2 separate regions of the Homo sapiens genome follow, and region 2 is linked to region 1. The links are contacts of gene promoters, found by promoter capture Hi-C in blood cells and fetal thymus (Javierre and others, 2016). All regions are on one chromosome and are shown on one strand. The core of a region is centred on a gene start or on the middle of the fragment in contact, and the rest is flanking DNA. Distances in the headings are between cores, read along the strand shown. Region 1 holds the start of OR10S1 (olfactory receptor family 10 subfamily S member 1). Region 2 holds the start of OR8D4 (olfactory receptor family 8 subfamily D member 4).

Evidence for each region. Contacts are between HindIII fragments. The CHiCAGO score rates a contact against its expected background, and 5 or more counts as called.
Region 2: the fragment with the promoter of OR8D4 here is called in contact with the fragment with the promoter of OR10S1 in region 1 in 1 of 17 cell types (neutrophils); the score reaches 5.8 in neutrophils.

Annotation. Positions count from the first base shown.
Region 1 is chr11:123,976,409-123,980,112 of GRCh38, reverse strand. It overlaps OR10S1 (olfactory receptor family 10 subfamily S member 1), which reads left to right and starts at 2,332. Exons shown (of 1, transcript NM_001004474.2): 1 at 2,332-3,452. The coding sequence starts at 2,449. The coding sequence ends at 3,417. The HindIII fragment of the contact is 7,911 bases long and covers 1-3,704 here.
Region 2 is chr11:123,899,920-123,903,599 of GRCh38, reverse strand. OR8D4 (olfactory receptor family 8 subfamily D member 4) reads right to left here and starts at 1,433. Exons shown (of 2, transcript NM_001005197.2): 1 at 1,343-1,433. The HindIII fragment of the contact is 7,569 bases long and covers 1-2,762 here.

The sequences.
Region 1 (3,704 bases), core at 1,083-3,582:
CCTGGACAGCCTGTGTATCACGGATGGCAGGAGGCAGACATGTTCCTAGGTGGGAGGGGTGGGTCCCCAGTGAAACCCCACCTTCATGCCAGGGACAGCCTGGAGCCTGGGGTCTGGGGTGCCAGTTCTGGGTAAAGTCCACAACCCAGAGTGAGAACTTCATTGACGCCTTTTGGCCAATTGGATGACGCTTTTTCCAGACCCACCTATAGCCACCCATGGACCAATCAGCATGCACTTCCTCCATTCTAAGCACATAAAAGCCTCAGATGCAGCCAAACTCACTCACTGGGGGGACCTGCCTGCAGAAAGGAGCTACTGACTTCAGGTCTCCTGAGAGCTGTTTTCTTGCTTAATAAAGCTCCTCTGCACCTTGCTCACCCTCTAGTTGTCCTCTAGTATCCTCATTCTTCCTGGACGCAGGATGAGAACTTGGGACCCACCGAACAGGGGGAGCTAAAGGTGCTGTAACATGTTCCTGGCTCATTTGCCAAGCTGTGGGTGGTGACATGCTCCCGGACTATGGGAGTAAAAAGTGGTGACCCTCCTGGTGGCCCAGACCTCGGGACTCCCCAAGCCAGAGCTGCTGTAACACTATAGCCCTCCCACCCTCTGCCAGTGCTGGGTGGCCACCCAATGGGACAGGAAGCAGAGGTGGGCCAGGCCAGCCCAGGAGCTGCAGGTCAGAGTGGGGTGGTGGGACTGAAAGGGCTGTAACACAAACAGACTGAAACACAAACCCCCAAACTCACCCCCTCATTGGCTGCATTGTGGGTGACGAGAAGGAAAGAAGAGCTTCTTGGAGCCCAGACCTCAGGACTCCCTGAGCCAGGGCTGTGACAGGCTGTAATACCCTCTTTGGGCTCTGCAGTTCCTGGCATCTCTGAGCTTTTGGGTGCCCCCATATTCCCCTCGTCCAGATGCTGGTGCCCATAATGGAAACCACTTGCAGTATGCCTGGTCCAGCTATAGCCTCACATGAAGCTGGTGCCTCTGCTGGCACCTGGAGCTGCCCATCCCACCACAGCAGCAAGTGTGCCTGGCTGTGTGCAGTGGCCAGACCCCTGTGCTTGCTCACTCACACACCTCTCGCCTCTCCCACCCTTGGCAAGCATGGAATCCAGGCTGGTAGCACGAGCCAAGTGCAGCCTGCCAGGCCAAGTGGGTGAAAAGAACCCAGCAGCCATGAGCAAACTCAAGCAGAGGAACCACCAGCCACAGAGGTTTCTGTCTGGAAAAGTGACATCCTAAGGATCCTGTGACAAGATCAGAGAGAGATTATGGCAAATTGAGGAGATGAGGCAAATAGCATCCCTGGATAACAGGAGTTTCTTAGGGGATTGCAGAAGATAAAGATTTTTTTCATGATAATGGAAATAGTTTACAGATAATTCTGAATGTAGGACAGAGATACACTTTATATCTCAGGCACTAAGGAACAGTAAGAAAAGATATATTCGAATTTTTTTAAGAAAACTGGCACAAAAAAGTTGAATACTGAATCATTTGGTATATCAGGGAGTAAGGAAGAGATGGGACATAAAATACCATTGTGAAAATCTAGGTGTAAAATATGAAGAGGTGGGTTTAGGTAAAATCCACAGGAATTGAAGAGACAACACGGAAAAAAAGCAGTTTAAGGAAATTTTTCACCTAATGCAACATCTGTTAGGCTAACGAGGTGAAAGATGGAAGAATCAAAGAGAACTCTTTAAATCTCAATTACAGTCCAGTGGAAAGGCTCAACAAGAAAGGAAAAGGCAAACAATTCCCCAAATTTTGAAACAGAGCTTTACAGGAAGAACACAAAGTGTATAGAAAAAATTGTCCTGATAATTATTCAGTCTATTCTCCAAGCCTCAATTGTTACACACTTGAGGATTGTGGGTAACTGAAATTCCAAAGAACTCCTCTGGTTGAGTAATGGGTGGGGCTGCTGTGTTTCTGGCTGATGTAATAGCACCAAAACTCCAGGCAAGTCTCACCTGAAAATAGGATGCATCTCCCTGATGACACAGCAATAAGAACCTGCCTTTCTACATCTACAGCATGGCAGGGTACATAGAGTAGGAGGGCAGAGGCATCACAATTCTGGAATATTTGCAAAAAATACTCATTGAGAGTAGGATTTATAATCCATATTTTTATTGTCATTATTTAGGGAGTGCATTTCTGCAAATAATTCTTACAGTCCTTTATATACCTCACCAAAACTGCAGATTTTGTATTGAAAGATTCATTATGAAGAAATAAACAGCAAGGAAGCACTAGACTAGAGCAGAACAAAACTGTAAGATGAACTTGTACATCTTTCTCTTGCTTACTGGGTAAGACCAAGGTGGTGTGGCTTGATGGATAATGACATCTCAGGAAAGGGATACAGCTATTTATTCCATTAATGTCAGTTTTGTTGCAAAGGGGATGACTAGCCGCTCTGTGTGTGAGAAGATGACCATGACAACGGAGAACCCCAACCAGACTGTGGTGAGCCACTTCTTCCTGGAGGGTTTGAGGTACACCGCTAAACATTCTAGCCTCTTCTTCCTCCTCTTCCTCCTCATCTACAGCATCACTGTGGCTGGGAATCTCCTCATCCTCCTAACTGTGGGCTCTGACTCTCACCTCAGCTTACCCATGTACCACTTCCTGGGGCACCTCTCCTTCCTGGATGCCTGTTTGTCTACAGTGACAGTGCCCAAGGTCATGGCAGGCCTGCTGACTCTGGATGGGAAGGTGATCTCCTTTGAGGGCTGTGCCGTACAGCTTTATTGCTTCCACTTTCTGGCCAGCACTGAGTGCTTCCTGTACACAGTCATGGCCTATGACCGCTATCTGGCTATCTGTCAACCCCTGCACTACCCAGTGGCCATGAACAGAAGGATGTGTGCAGAAATGGCTGGAATCACCTGGGCCATAGGTGCCACGCACGCTGCAATCCACACCTCCCTCACCTTCCGCCTGCTCTACTGTGGGCCTTGCCACATTGCCTACTTCTTCTGCGACATACCCCCTGTCCTAAAGCTCGCCTGTACAGACACCACCATTAATGAGCTAGTCATGCTTGCCAGCATTGGCATCGTGGCTGCAGGCTGCCTCATCCTCATCGTTATTTCCTACATCTTCATCGTGGCAGCTGTGTTGCGCATCCGCACAGCCCAGGGCCGGCAGCGGGCCTTCTCCCCCTGCACTGCCCAGCTCACTGGGGTGCTCCTGTACTACGTGCCACCTGTCTGTATCTACCTGCAGCCTCGCTCCAGTGAGGCAGGAGCTGGGGCCCCTGCTGTCTTCTACACAATCGTAACTCCAATGCTCAACCCATTCATTTACACTTTGCGGAACAAGGAGGTGAAGCATGCTCTGCAAAGGCTTTTGTGCAGCAGCTTCCGAGAGTCTACAGCAGGCAGCCCACCCCCATAGTCTGTGCTATCAAAACTCACAATTTGCCTGCCAGGAAAGCAACTATTCACATCTCAAATCATTCAGGTGGAAATCAGAATAACTGAGTTGCAACTCAGTCACACACTTTCCCCCAGCTTTGGCCAAATGGTCTACCTCACTCTCTCCCTTGCAAACACTTCATCTAGAAAATGAGGAGGCTGGATTAGATGATGTCTAGAGTCTCTCCAAAATCTATGTTCTATGGTTCAGAGGTATGTGAAATGCTATTCGTATCCTCATTTGTATTAGTAAATGATTGTTTTACT
Region 2 (3,680 bases), core at 184-2,683, 76 kb after region 1:
CAAAATAATCTACTACATTGATTCAGACCTCATTCAGGACTCAGGTGGTTTTTAGCAATTTAAAATCATAAGAAAAGTGTTTTTAAACATTTCAATGCATCTCACAGTATTATTAAAACTATGACTATTGAAAGTATTTTGCAAAGGTAAATGCTAGATCAGCATTGCCCAATAGACATATAATGCAGACACACGGGCAATTTAAAACATCCTAGAAGTTCATTTTGTAAAAAGTCAGAATAAAAAGATAAAATACATTTTACTAGTATGTTTTGTTTAACTCAGTTCAGTCCTTGATATCCATAGGAGACTGGTTCCTGGACCCCTTCAGATACCAAAATCCCTGAATGCTCAAGTCCCTGATTTAAAATGGTGTCGTATTTTTATGTAACCTAACTAAGCACATCCTTTTGTATACTTTAAATCATCTCTAGATTACTTATAATACCTAATATAATGTAAATGCTAAGTAAATATTTCTTTTAGTATATTGTTCAGGGAATAACAAGAAAAATGTCTGTACATATTCAGTACAGATATAACCACCCATTAAAAAAAAATCTTCCATCTGCCATTGGTTGAATCCACAGATGTGGAACCCACAGACACACAGGCCAACTGTACATGCAAAATGATGTACATGTACATCATTTCAACATATAATTCATATTTTAAAAATAATGAGATATTTTACATTATTTTATTATACAAATCTTTGAAATCCATAGTGTATTTTATACCCGGCCAGATTTCAAATGCTCAGTAGCCACCTATGGCTAGTGGCTATATTACTGGACAACAGAAGTCTAGAATGTGATCTTTTTCCCTAAATCTTTCAAATCTGAATTGTCCCCTTTTAAAGAAAGAAACCATTAGTACAGAGGTAACAGAAAGACCATGAACCCTGAGTTATAAGATGCAGTATCATTTTCATTTCTAAGATTTACAGTGCAACCTTTGACTCATAAAGTCTCTCTGAACTTCATATTTTAATCTGTAAAAAATAATAAATACTTCAAAAGATTGTTATGCAAATCAAATGAGACAATAACTGTGAATGTATTTTACATATTATAAGGTTCACATAAATATATTTGTAAATATATTTTTAAAGCAGGTGATTTCACAGATTAATTCATATATTAGACACAAGATACTTAGGTAAGGTGACTGGACAATGCATAAATGAGTCTGAGATGGATGCCTATGGCCTCTTCCCTAAACTTCTGTGACTCAGTGGCCTCAAACATGCAGCTCGAGAACCCATGGGGACAATCGGGAATTGATTTCAGAACACATTTTAATATACTTATAATATGAACATCATAATTCTGAAGCTCACCTTTTTCCTCCTGAAGACTGTAGGTGAGTATCTCTTCTTTCTCCTAACCTCATCACTTCAGGAGTAGAGATGGATTGATTTTACCTTCTTCTTTAAGTGTCTGAGTGACAACAGCTAACAAGAAGCTATGACTTTTATTCTCAGTTCAGGTATTTTGTGTCAAGAAATATAAAGACCAGTAGTCCCAAGGGTTTCTTGTCTCCTGAGGTACAGCAGCCTATGTATTTGTAAGAACTATCCATGAACTGGCCTATCATTTTGGGAATCTAACATGGATTAGTCACACTAATGCCCCTTGCCATTCAGTCGGGGAAGATACATGGTCTAACACATGGCTTGCATTTTAAAATGTTGAACAAATGAGGCATCATAGACAGTGCTTGGTATAATAAGCAGTAGGTAGACTTTGAGGTCAGAGATGGAACAGGTCATTACTGTCTAGAGCGATAAGGACGATCTTCATGGAAAGGTAGATTGTAAAATATGCCTTCAAAGGTGGGGAGGATCCATTTAAGCTGAGAGGATATGAAAGAATATTCAAGACGTAGATAAAGGCATAAGCAAAGGAACTGAGAAGTAGAAAACCTAAGGAATATGTGAAGAACACTGGGAATAGCTGAAGTGTTTCTTGGATGAAAGCAGTAGATTCAGTGTTTCTAGTGTCTGCTAATGATGGAAGAAGAGTCAGAGGAATGAGTCTGAGTCCAGCCCTCCAGTCTGTTCTAATGGCTTTCCAGGACATCTGGAAGAATGTGCCTGGTGATCCTTGGGTGAGCCTTTTGTGGCTCTGTTAAAATAACACATGCACTTAAAGCCTCCACATTTTCAGGGGCAAACAGCTATATTCAGATCTGCCTTTGGGGAAAACTGTGACACCACTTCAGATTATCTCATAATCAATAGTGTCTACCATGTCAAAGACACTAAATTTCTGGAGATGGAGCCAGGATAAATAAAGCATGGTCCTTCCCCCATTCATATTGGATGGTTATTAAAACATGTTTTAATGTCAATTTATTTCCTTGGGAAAAGTGCTTTGGTACCATTCCTATTCCCTTAACTATTCTCCCAGTGTACTGACCTCTGCTTTAACATTGTCCCCCCATACATGTATTTGTGCCTGTCTTCCCTGCTCTTTGGGAATTGCCCCCCCGCCGTTGAGACAAGGGACAATTTCTCATTCATTAGGGCCTATCGCAATGACCGGCTTAGAGTAGAATTTACTTTTTTCAGCATCATCCTCATTCCTACCCAGCATCTAGTTCAATCAGAACACTTTGTTCTCTCCTGTCTAGAAGATCGTGATCTGAAATGCTGATTAAAATAGGCCAACTTACAGGAGAGGATTTTCACTTACTAGATAAATAACAAAATGAGATCAATTCTTAACCAGGGGAAATCAGTCATGAATGAGGAAGCTTATGGTATTAGAAGAGCAGATATGTAACACACAATATTCTTGCTTATTCTTAAAATCAAATATTATAAATAACCATCAATCCTACTTATACTTGTCCAAGCAAGCTTATTGCATAGAGGCCTACTGGAGTCAAATGCTTAAAACACAAAACTTCAGCTATAGTCTAGATACCCATTACCAGCCTGTGAATTATACATATTATGAATAATGTTTAGTGAAGTAAATCCCTGTTATGATCATGTGTGTAAGCGAGAGTGTGTGTGTGTATGTATTGCTGCCTCACTATGCAAATAGTTTATTTTGAAACTAAAAAATATTAGTGATTTGCTACACAAATATAATATGGAGCATATCTGATTGCAAAAAAACAAAAAAAAAGCAAATGAAGAAATATAATCCAAAGGCAAAGAGAAATGTTCAGATTATATGTTAGTCTTCTTTGTTAATGTGGGTAAGTCAAAGTTAACTTAGCTATAGCAATCTCTTTATAGTTATGTTAGAGATTCCTTTCAATGTGTACAGGAAGTTTTTGGTCAGAAATGAGAAAAGTATAAAGTCAGGTGGGCTAGTATAAAGCTGGGAATCTAAAGAGGTTGTTTTGTTGTTCTTCTTGTTGTTATTGCTATCTGGGCTTTTGTTTATTTTTAGTTTGTAACCCTTCAGCTAGGGCCTTCTGAGTACTCAGTAGGAGTGTCTAGGTTTGGGAAGAACCACAGGACCATTAGCCGCCTCCTACCACTCTCACTATCACCATGATAAGTCCTAGAAAACAACCTCCTGCCCACTGGGAAGAAACTCTTCTCTACCCTACCCAGCAGTGTGCAGCTGCCTCCACCAGGCAACCTTGGCCTTTGCTGCTGCTCCTCCAGGCACTGCTGTCTTAGTCCAAACGGAGCCAAGAGTAGGTGGAGCAAAGAC